2 separate regions of the Homo sapiens genome follow, and region 1 is linked to region 2. The links are contacts of gene promoters, found by promoter capture Hi-C in blood cells and fetal thymus (Javierre and others, 2016). All regions are on one chromosome and are shown on one strand. The core of a region is centred on a gene start or on the middle of the fragment in contact, and the rest is flanking DNA. Distances in the headings are between cores, read along the strand shown.

Region 1 (5,333 bases), core at 870-3,369, 4.3 Mb before region 2:
CACTTGGGCCTGGGAGGCAGAAGTTGCAGTGAGCCAAGACTGTGCCTCTGCACTCCAGCCTGGGCTCAGGGTGAGACTCCGTCTAAAAAAATAAAAATAAAAATAAATAAATAAATAAATAAAGGGTTAAATTCATAAAAAGCATTTACTTTATAGGCAGTCTAAATAGGTACATTTTATTGAAGGTTTCTGTCACTAGGACAATCCTCAACTGTTCTCTTTGCCAAGTCAGTATGAAGCAGCAAGTCCTCCTCCCGCAAGACAAGACACATACTTCAGCTTGAGAATCTGCACAGCTAAGCAGAATGCAGGCCCAAATGGCCAAAGGGAATCCATCTGACCTGAAGATAATTATAAAAAGCTTTGTTTGGGCAGCTTAATACTAGTCTTAAAATAATCAGATTGACTCAAACTCCATATACATTTTGGTAGCCTTCTACCCTACACCTCTTCTTCATCTCTTTGATTCCTCCTACCTGCATTACTGACCCAAGTTAATCTATAATGTGACAAGTGTTTTAAGGAAAAAAACAACCATCAGACCCACAGATTAATTTGACAGGGATGAAATCTGTAAGGCCTTTATATCACATAAAATGTCTTTTGTATGGCTGACAAGTTTCAAAGAAATAAACTGGTAAAATTTTTAAAGCGTGTGCCTTGTTTCCAACTTAACTCATTTTCAAAACTAAATTTTATTTTTTTATTTTTTAGAGACAGGGTCTCTGTCACCCAGGCTAGAGTGCAGTGGTGCAATCATAGCTCACTACAGCCTCGAATCTCCTAGGCTCCAGCAATTCTCCCGCCTCAGCCTCCCAAGTAGCTGGGACTACAAGCTTTCCACCACACCTGGCTAATTTTTAAAAAAATTTTAGTAGAGATAAGGTCCTGCTGTGTTGCACAGGCTGGTCTCAAACTCGTGGCCTTAAGCAATCCTCCTGCCTTGATTTCCCAAAGTGTCGGGATTAATGGTGTGAGCCACTGCACCCAGCCAAAAGTAGGTATTCTTAAAAATATCTGTATTCCCTCTTAACAATTATGTTCACCCAATGAGGCATGAGAAAACACAGGCCCCTAGTATTTTACATCCAGGTTCTCTTTTGCACAGTGATTTGTGACATGCTAACCAGTTTAATTTACAAGTTTCTTTTTTTTTGTTTTCCAGCTGTGGATATGCCCTGTGGAGTGACACCGGTACAAAGAACTTCAGGTTTCCTAGGTCCCCAAATTCTCTAAGCACTAACAGTTTAAAGACGTCCTTACCATACACCACCGTTTGCTCTCATCATTACCCTGAACGCACTTGTGTATAATCACAAAGGAGTAACACGGCACATGTGAATACCGTTAGGATTCTTCACCTCTTTTTAAGAAGCAAACCAAAATACATTAAAAAATGCCAATTACATAGTAAACTACATATTTGCCAATTTTTAAAATTTATACTATCAATAATTGAGTTTATTTCAATTAATAATGTTAACAATGACACATTTAACATTATGTTAGAGCTCAATTTGTATATATTAACATGTATTTTTAAATAATTTACGTATTTATCGTCGAATCATGTATTTTTTTAAAGGGGGATGCTCAACTCTCTCAGGCAAAAATGAGCACCTTTCCGAACACCGTGGGGAGAGGCAGGGATGCAGGCAGACATATCCTAAACTCACCCTCCCGGCAGCATCAAAGTAGCCTTCGGCCAGGGATTTGTTATAATCAGCATAAGGATTCGGGAAGGCCCTTTGAGCCATGACGCCGGAAGCAAGCCTGCAGAACAGGGGAAAAACAGAAACTAGGTTGAGATAGGGGCCTCGGCCGAGTTGCGAGGGCGGCGGCGGCGCCCAGGTATCCCCCTTCCTCCAGCTCCAGGGCCATCGAGCCGTCTCGGCGGTCCGAGTGGACCTCGGGCCCACTGCGGCCCAACTGCTAGGACATGGCGCCTTCGCGAAAAAGCTGCCAGGGCCCTTAACCCACCCGGACAAAGAGGCCCCGTTTTGCAACCCCGTTCCCACGCCCGCGACTTGAAGCAAGTGCGCCTCCCGCGTCCTGAAGCCCTTCTCGGCCCTGGCCTCTCACCCCGCAGCCCCGGACAGTAACAGAAGGGCTATTTTACCGCCCAGTTCCTGCCAGGAGGGCCAATCAGAGCCTTCGCCGTTCCCGAGACCCGCCCCCTTCTCTCTTACAGTTTGTTAAAGACACAGGCGTGTAATTTCTAAAGGATAACGCAGGGTATTTTAATTACTGGGTAGCAGAAGTGAGGACCTAGAATCACGCGGAGATGTGACCAATATTTCCTACCCTTCTTTAATTTTTCTTATTTTTAAAAAGTCAAATTTAAGTCCAGAGTCATAAGAAGTATATATTTTTTTAACCTGGAGAAGAAACAGACTGCTTTTAGATCTGAACATGCTGGTATTTCTGCTGTTCGCAATAGATAAAATTTGGCGGGGGGTGGGGGGATAATGTCTCTCCAGGGACTTGCCAATCTTTTCTTTTCATTTCTTAAAACAAACAAACAAAAAAGCACCACCATCATTAACAACAACAACAACAAAAATATGCCCAAAGGACAGGATATCAAATAGCAGTTGATAATACTTTGGGGAAAGCACATGAAAACACAAATTACAGCTCTTAGGAAATTTATTCTGTTCCTTAGCCTAAATTGGACTATAATACTGGATAACAAAGCTCTAAAAAATACTGAAAACCAACACAGCAGGAGATCCACAACATTCAATTTCAATGTTTTAACAGTCCCTGCTATCTGAAACATTTTTCTTTCATTTAAAATTAAATCCCACCTGGTACATATTAGGCCCATTCTATTGCTCAGAGAATTTTGGAGTTCAGTTAAAAAGTCAGCCTCACTCTCTCCTTTTCCTTCTCTCCGGTTTCAATGAAGAGTCCTAGCTCCAGACCTCCAACTGGAGAAGCTCAGTCTCCACCCCAACTCCCTCCCTCCTTGGCCTAAGTTTGTCCTTCTGAGGCTGCCATCCCAAACTCTACTCCTAATCCCTCCCCACACCCAGGTTTGCTCTTTTAAAATAGTTGCTTTCTTAGGAAATGTAGTTGCTTTCTTAACCTCATCAAATTCATGAAGATTTAGCCGAGGCCCATGGTGAGTCTTAAGCTGGATATCTCTCATGTTTTAAAAGATGGGTGTTTGAAGGAGCAACTCACAAGAGAGAAAAGGAAAACGAGAGACATTTTATCAATTATTTTTTCTTTAATGATTAAAGGCTATCCATTTATCCCACTCACAGTCTTTAAGCAATTAAATATTACTGTTGTTAAGCAAGGCAGGATGGTAATTGTATATTTTCATAGTATGCCTCTATCTTATTTTACTAATCCTTTCCCCTAATGATGGACATTGTTTCTAACTTCCATACTACAAATAATATTCTTGGAACATGTGCTTTTATGAATCTGTGTGAGTATCCCTGAGACATACACCCAGCAGTCAATTGCTGGATCATATGAGATTCTGTACTTAATTTCCCCAATGTTGTTAGATTGCTTTCCAAAACTGCTGGACTAGTTTATATTCCCTCTAACAGTATCTATTGTTCACTCCAAGAGTATTCACTCCAACATATCAATTGTTTCTGTCATTTCCATCTCCTCTCCAACACTTGGTATTATCTAGTGTTCTAATGTTTGCCATTCTAATGAATAATGTAGAATCTCACTGATGTTTAATCTTTTAGTTTTTCTGTGGCTAATGGTGTTGAACTTTCCTTCATATACCTGTTAGACAATTGGGCTTTACCTGTTCCTTTATTTATTTTTCTATTAGTGATTGCATTGTTTTCCTGTTGATTTGAAAGAGTTTTGTTTCTTTTTTTCCCGTGTTTGTGGGGTATATTCTGTATATTAATCTCCTTTCACTTTAGTTATTGTAGATACTTTCTTTAGTTTGTTCACATTTTCTAGGATATCCTTTATTGAATCACAATCTTTCATTTCGATGAAGTTAAACCCATCTAATTGTGACACTGTGATTTGAGGATTTAGCTTCATATTCAAAATGTCTTTGTCTACTCATAGACTGCAATGACTTCCCACATTTTATTTTATTAGCTTTTTACCTCTTATATTTAAGTCTTTATCTGGAGTTTACTTCTGAAGATGATGTGAAGCATGCGTCTAAACGGAAGGGAAGTAGAATTATTTAGAATTTAAATATAATCAAAGCATGTGACTTGTAAACACCCAAAGATTTTAATTGCTGGAAATAATATTTCCCTCCCTCCCTCCCTCCTCCCCCCTCCCCCCTTCCCCCCTCCCTTCCCTCCCTCCCTCCCTGCTTTCCTTCTCTTTCTTCCTTCCTTTTTGTCAGAGAACCAACCCAGAGAATCCCTCCTTGGTTCTGATACAAAAGAAAAGTATTTAACATTTATTGTTTGTATTTATCTACTCAGGCTGCCACACAAAGAACCATAGCAAGTGGCCTGAAACAACAGAAATGTATTTTTCCACAGTTGTGAAGGATAGAAGTCTGGGATTAAGATGTTAGCAGGACTGATTCCATCTGAGGCCTGTCTTGTTGGCTTGTAGATGCCGTCTTCTCCTATCTTCACATGGTTGTCCCTCAGTCTGTGTTGTCTGTGTCCTAATTTCCTCTTCTTACGACACCATCATAGTGGATTATGACTTCATTGAACCTTATCATTCTTTCTTTTTTTTTTTTTTTTTTGAGACGGAGTCTCGCTCTGTTGCCAGGCTGGAGTGCAGTGGCACGATCTCGGCTCACTGCAACCTCTGACTCCCTGGTTCAAGCGATTCTCCTGCCTCAGCCTCCAGAGTAGCTGGGATTACAGGCACACACCACCACGCCCAGCTAATTTTTGTATTTTCAGTAGAGACGGGGTTTCACCATGTTGGCCAGGCTGGTCTTGAACTCCTGACCTCAAGTGATATGCCTGACTTGGCTAACCTTACTTTTCTTTAAAGACCCTTCTCCAGCAGCCACATGCTGAGATAGTGAGAGTTAGGACTTCAACGTATGAATTTGGGGGGCAACAATTTTAGCCCCAAATAGTACCTATGCTTTCACCTGTGGCTATGGTGGCTGAACACATTTGTGGCTAACACAAATTTGACAGTTATAATTTTTTATGGATCATTCTACTTTTGATAAATTTAGGATGATTTTTTAAAAAAATGTAATGTTCCTTCTTTTAATCACTGTAGCTGTCTTGTGTGAACTTTCAGGAAATAATCATTGTATTATTGCCTCTAAAACTGAATACTTCTGGAAATCTGGGATGATTGATAACAGAGAAAACAACTATATTCTGAGGGCATTTTAGTTCCATTCT
Region 2 (5,550 bases), core at 2,747-5,246:
CATTTAACATCTACACTATGCTGCCTCAAAGTATGAGAGAATACAAAATTAAGCTTGATCATCTCCTAAACAAGAACTCAGAAAAAAAAAAATACCTATCATAAAGGTTAAAAGATTACTTTCTAACTTTTCATAAAAAGTTGATTAAAAAGGCCCACGTTACAATTGTCATAGATGTCTAATCCCACTCTCACCCTCAAAAATATGCCAAGAGGTACCTATTAATTCACAAAACAGTGTTATATGACACCTGGGGCTTCTACACTGCAGCTCCTATTACCATTTCCTGCTTCCTTTAGGAACACATTATTACTGTGCTTTCTGCCAGCCTCTCAAATAATATGGTCTTCCTGTCTCATTTTTCCAAATCCTTAAATAGCTTCTTTCTGGTTGTGAGGCTTGGTCCTAATATAAATGTCACATCTGGCCTCTTGAACACTTTCATCGGCTTCACCTTGAAGCCAGATTCATGTTAAAGGTCAAGAAAGGATGCCCGGTTATGTACCAATCCACCCTCACCAGCAAGTAATGCTTGCTGCAAAACAGATCCATGTGCAACACAAGGCAGATGTCAGCTGCAAGCTGAATGTGAGGGTAATCGGGGTAATCACTAGCCCACTGGGTAGAACTCTGAAACTCTGTAAAAGGACATACTGACACAATTTCAAATAATATGACACTGCTTTGAATGGAGGGTAGCAAATGGAAGAAGCAGACCATTCTGAGTTGCTCCTTGCCGGCAATGTCAGGAGGCTACCAGGGCAAAGGCAGAGGTAGGAACAATGCTTTTCCTCCTTGAGTAAGGTGCAGCTGGCCATGCTTTTTTCACTATAGATAGTGCCAAAGTTGCAGAGACACCTACAGAGGAAAGCAAAATCATTTCTAAACATTAAAGCCCATGTAAAGACCAGGCATGGTGGCTCACGCCTGTAATCCCAGCACTTTGGGAGGCTGAAGTGGGCGGATCACTTGAGGTCAGGAGTTGGAGACCAGCCTGGCCAACATGATGAAACCCCGTCTCTAGTAAAAATACAAAAATTAGCCGGGCATGGTGGCATGCACCTGTAGTTCCAGCTACTCAGGAGGCTGAGGCAAGAGAATTGCTTGAACCCGGGGGAAGGAGGTTGCAGTGAGCTGAAATCATGCCACTGCACTCCAGCTTGGGTGACAGAGTGAAACTTTGCCTAGGGAAAAAAAAAAAAAAAAGGCACCCCATGTGATATAAAATTGTATACCAAAAAGGATTTTTAAACTTGAGACATTAAGTTTATCAAGACTTTATCGACAGTTTAGCAACTATTGCCTGTGGGCCAAACCAAGCCAGCAGTCTGTTTCTGTACAGCCCTTAAGGAAAGAATGGTTTTTACATTTTTAAGAGATGTAAAAATAAATAAGAACAAAAACTATTTGCGGGCAGAAAGGCCTAAAATATTAATTACCTGGCCCTTTACCGAAAAAATTTGCAGACCCCTACATGAAAACATGCAGTCTAAGAGTTAAGATTCAGTTCATCTATAGAGGTTCGGATTAAAAAAAAAAAAATCAATAGCATTCAATAGCATTCTGTAGTCAAATGGGTGAGCCATGCTAAAAGTCTGGGCCTGGTTACTGATGTCTGTTTACACTCCGTTGCCTCTTACTGTCTACTCACTTCAGTTAGAAACTGGAAAAATATTTGGTAGGGGATAAAAAGTGAAACCGGCTTTGTTATTTTTCAGGACAACATATATTCATATATATTATCTATTTTGTCTCTCCCAAATCATGTAGCAAGCAAACACCACATTCTTTTAGATTAAGACACACATTATTTATCATTTATTCTATCACAACCACCAAACTCAATACTTTACATACATGTAAAATTTCATTTTGTTTCTTCCATAAAAGCTCCCTAAGAGATGGAATTTATTGTCTGCTTTGTTCACTAACAAATCCCCAATACCCAGAATAGGGTCTGGCACTTTATGGGTGCTCAATAAATTTATGATTATTAATGAATCCTCACAAGAAAATAAGCTAATCATTAGTATTACTCATATCCGGAAAATGAGAGATGAATAACTTGGCCTACTCAATAGTGTCAAAGCTAGAACCTGAACTCAGGCATTCTGACCACAGTCTAAGTGAAGCCCGATGCTTCCACATAGGTATGTGCCAAGGGAATGTCTAACTTTCGTTGGACTATCAAGGTGTGAACTATAATGCTTCTGTTATTGCAACTAGCAGTGCCAGTTTTAAATTTCCTATTCTCAGATGACCCATGTGCTACAGGAAAACAAACACACAACTCAAATGTCTTCATGTACTCACTTATCTGAGTGTCACTTTTCTAAGAAGTGCAATGTCATTTTGTCACAGATATTAAAAGTTTTCGTCAAAGAAAATATAAGTGCAAAACTCTGACAGTTAAGTCCTTTTCATTTTTAAAGAAAAAGTTTGGCCGGGCACCGTGGCTCACGCCTGTAATCCCAGCACTTTGGGAGGCAGAGGCGGGCGGATCACGAGGTCAGGAGACGGAGACCATCCTGGCTAACACGGTGAAACCCCATCTGTACTAAAAATACAAAAAATTAGCCGGGCATGATGGCGGGCGCCTGCAGTCCCAGCTACTTGGGAGGCTGAAGCAGGAGAATGGCGTGAACCCGGGAGGCGGAGCTTGCAGTGAGACAAGATCGTGCCACTGCACTCCAGCCTGGGCGACAGAGCGAGACTCCGTCTCAAAAAAGGAAAGAAAAGAAAAAGTTGTGTTACTTATACTTTATGCAACTAGGTAACTTAAGTTCTGCAAGTTAGAAATCAAAGGGGAAAAAAGTCCAAAAAGGATATAAACTTTTGACAGCTACAAATAACAAAAAAACTGCCAGTGATCTTCATACAGAAATACTTAGCTGTACACACAGCAAGTGCTCAATAAAAATGCTTTTCAGAAGAAATGAAAATGAGACAAACCTTTCTTGGGTTTTACAAACCTTCTTGGTTTGTATACTAGAAAGAGCTACACGAAAAAAAGCAAGAAGTAACACTCATGAAAATGTCTTTGGACGGAATGAAAACCCTGAGAGGACTCCCATAATGTGACAGCATGAAGGAAAACAATAAACAGCATCACTAAGAGCGGGGACACCAGACATACAGTCTTTTGAGCAAACTAAGAAAATGAGAAATTCCGTGCCATCTTCAATCTACAACTATGGTAGATATCCGATGCTCCATCCCATCTCACTCGAAAAAGCTGGCACGGAGAAAATGTCAAAAAGGCCAGTTTAACTTAGAGTGGCAGCTGCTTCTAATTTAGAGGGTCTCCGGGGCGGCCCGCCAGCCCAATTCGCCACAGCTCCCGGAAAGCAGCGGGGTAATCCAGGGCCGGGTAAAAAATGCAGAAGCCTCAGCCCCACCCCAGCCCGATTCAAACTCTGGAGGCGCGACCGGGATGAACATTTTTTTAGCCACACCTCCAGACGGTTCTTCAGCCCGCTGAAGTTCAAAAACTACCGTTTCAGTTGGATTCAGGGCAAGGGGAGGCCGGTAAGTCGCCCAAAAATAAAGTGAATGAGAAGCAGAAGTTGTTAATACTATATCCCCCGGCAGGTGCTAACCGCACGCCGACCCGACTGCAGCGCGGGAACGGAAGGAGGAAACGGAAGATTTGAAAAGATTCTGCCGCCCCCAGAAACTGTGCGACCCGTGCCCTCGCAGCCACCCCCAAGAAGCTCCGTCTTTACCAACGCGAGCAGCGCAGCAGCTTCTCCAGGCGGTCGAGCGCGGCGCGACTGTGGGCCCAGGCACCGCGACCATCCGGTTCCATGGCGGGCGCGGAACGAGGCTCGTTCCCGGAGCGGATCCTCGGCTGCCGGTTCCTCGGCTGCCGATTATCCGGCATCGTCCCGCCTTCGGATGAAAGGCTCCTCGCAGAGCGGGAAGCAAGGAAGCCTCGGGAAACCACAGGGAAGCTGCAGGCCAGCGACTCGAAACCGGCCAAGCTCTTCCCGCGTCTGGGACGGCGGGCCGCCAGAGGGGCGGGGCGCGCGGGGAGGGGCGGGGCACGGCGGCCGCAATGCTCCCAAAATAGGGACTCGCAGGGCACAGGGGCGGGGCCGCGAGAGCCAGCCGCTGGCCGAGTGGGCGGGACCTAGGGGTGGGGCTGGAGGCTGAAACTTGCCAAAGTCCCGGCGTGTGGGACTTAGGGGAGGGGCCGCGAGAGCCGTGGGACCGAGGGGGCGGGGCCGGACGGCTGAAACTTGCCAAAGTCCCGGCGCGCGGGTCCTAGGGGCGGAGCCGCGAGAACACGCCGGGGACAGAGGGGGCGGGGCCTAGGAGCCTCGGGGCGGGACAGGACGGTCGAAACCGAAGTCCTGGCGCGCGGGGCCCAGGGGCGGGGCCTAGGGGCCTCGGGGCAGGACAGGACGGCTGAAACCGAGGTCCCGGCGCGCGGGGCCCAGGCGCCGTGCAGTGAGAGCACGCCGCTTGACCGAAGGGGCGGGGCCTGAAGGCTGAGCGCAGTCGCGAGGCTGTAGTTGGCAGGAGAGCGGGCGGGGCCTGAAGCCCCTCTGGGCTGCCTGGACGGATGAAGTCCAGGTGGAAAGCCAGTCGACGTTTCCCGGGAGCTACGACTCCAGGGACCCTCATCCGAGCTTAACCGTTGGAACAATCACAAACCCAGAAACTTTTAGCTGAGTGTTATTTATAAAAAGCGCTGTTTTGACTGCTGTTGGACTTGGAAAAGCTTTGCCCACGATACTGAAGGTACCACTCTTTGTTCCTAAGAAAGCAACCTTTTCTTTCCTCTCACCTCAGCTGTGGCGTATATTGTAACTGAGTAAAAATAAGGAAAGTTTCTAATTCTAACTAGTTAACAAATATCAGCTCAAAGGCATGTCTGAAAAGATCTGGTTTACTTTTAAAATATTGGTATAAAATTTCAAAAAGGGTTTTTTTTGTTAGAGAGTGTGTCCACCTTCCTCCTCCAGATCTTTCACTGATCGCCGTAATTTACAGATAAGACCTACAGAGCAACCCGTCATGCCTTCCTGCCGCGCCCCAAGTTCATTTCCAAGTCCTTGCATTTTTTCCCCCTAACTTGTCTCGAATGCACCCATTTTCTCTCCGTCTCTGCTCCACAACATCCCCAGTTGCCTCGTCCTCGCCTGGTTTCCTGTCGTAGCTTTCTAGCTGATATCCAAGTGTCTATCCAGGTCCCAGCCAGTCCCGAGACTGCGGTGTGGCCGCCTAAAACATTTCCAAACACAAAACTCATCGTGGCACTTCCCTTTCTTAAAACTCCTTAAAGTTTTTCTCTGCTCTTTGACTAGCCTCTTGTCAAAACCTCCTCTGGCCATCATGGTCCCAACCCCACAGTGCGTTCCCTTAGGTCATTAAAAGCCCCTGCACCTTGCTGCCTCATGGCTTTTGCGCAAAGATTCACTTTGGAACCTGGAATTGGCCTCCTCTCCATTCCTCATCCTTCAGAATACAGCTGAAGTATCACTCCTTAAAGGTTTTCCTAGTTCCTAGACTGGATTCTCTCAGGTGCATCATATCACCTGTGTA

The links. The method cuts DNA at HindIII sites, captures the fragments that hold promoters and counts their contacts. A CHiCAGO score of 5 or more calls a contact.
Region 1: a contact is called between the fragment with the promoter of LANCL1 here and the fragment with the promoter of BARD1 in region 2, in 7 of 17 cell types (non-activated CD4 T cells, total B cells, naive B cells and 4 more). The highest score is 16.6, in non-activated CD4 T cells.

Annotation. Positions count from the first base shown.
Region 1 is chr2:210,474,640-210,479,972 of GRCh38, forward strand. LANCL1 (LanC like glutathione S-transferase 1) reads right to left here and starts at 2,120. Exons shown (of 10, transcript NM_006055.3): 1 at 1,981-2,120; 2 at 1,677-1,773. The coding sequence starts at 1,757. It also overlaps a transcript of CPS1 not described here. The HindIII fragment of the contact is 5,337 bases long and covers 835-5,333 here.
Region 2 is chr2:214,805,687-214,811,236 of GRCh38, forward strand. BARD1 (BRCA1 associated RING domain 1) reads right to left here and starts at 3,997. Exons shown (of 11, transcript NM_000465.4): 1 at 3,726-3,997. The coding sequence starts at 3,883. SNHG31 (small nucleolar RNA host gene 31) reads left to right here and starts at 4,543. Exons shown (of 4, transcript NR_110292.1): 1 at 4,543-4,746. RefSeq lists enhancers at 2,936-2,985, 3,276-3,355 and a silencer at 3,906-4,475. The HindIII fragment of the contact is 4,673 bases long and covers 52-4,724 here.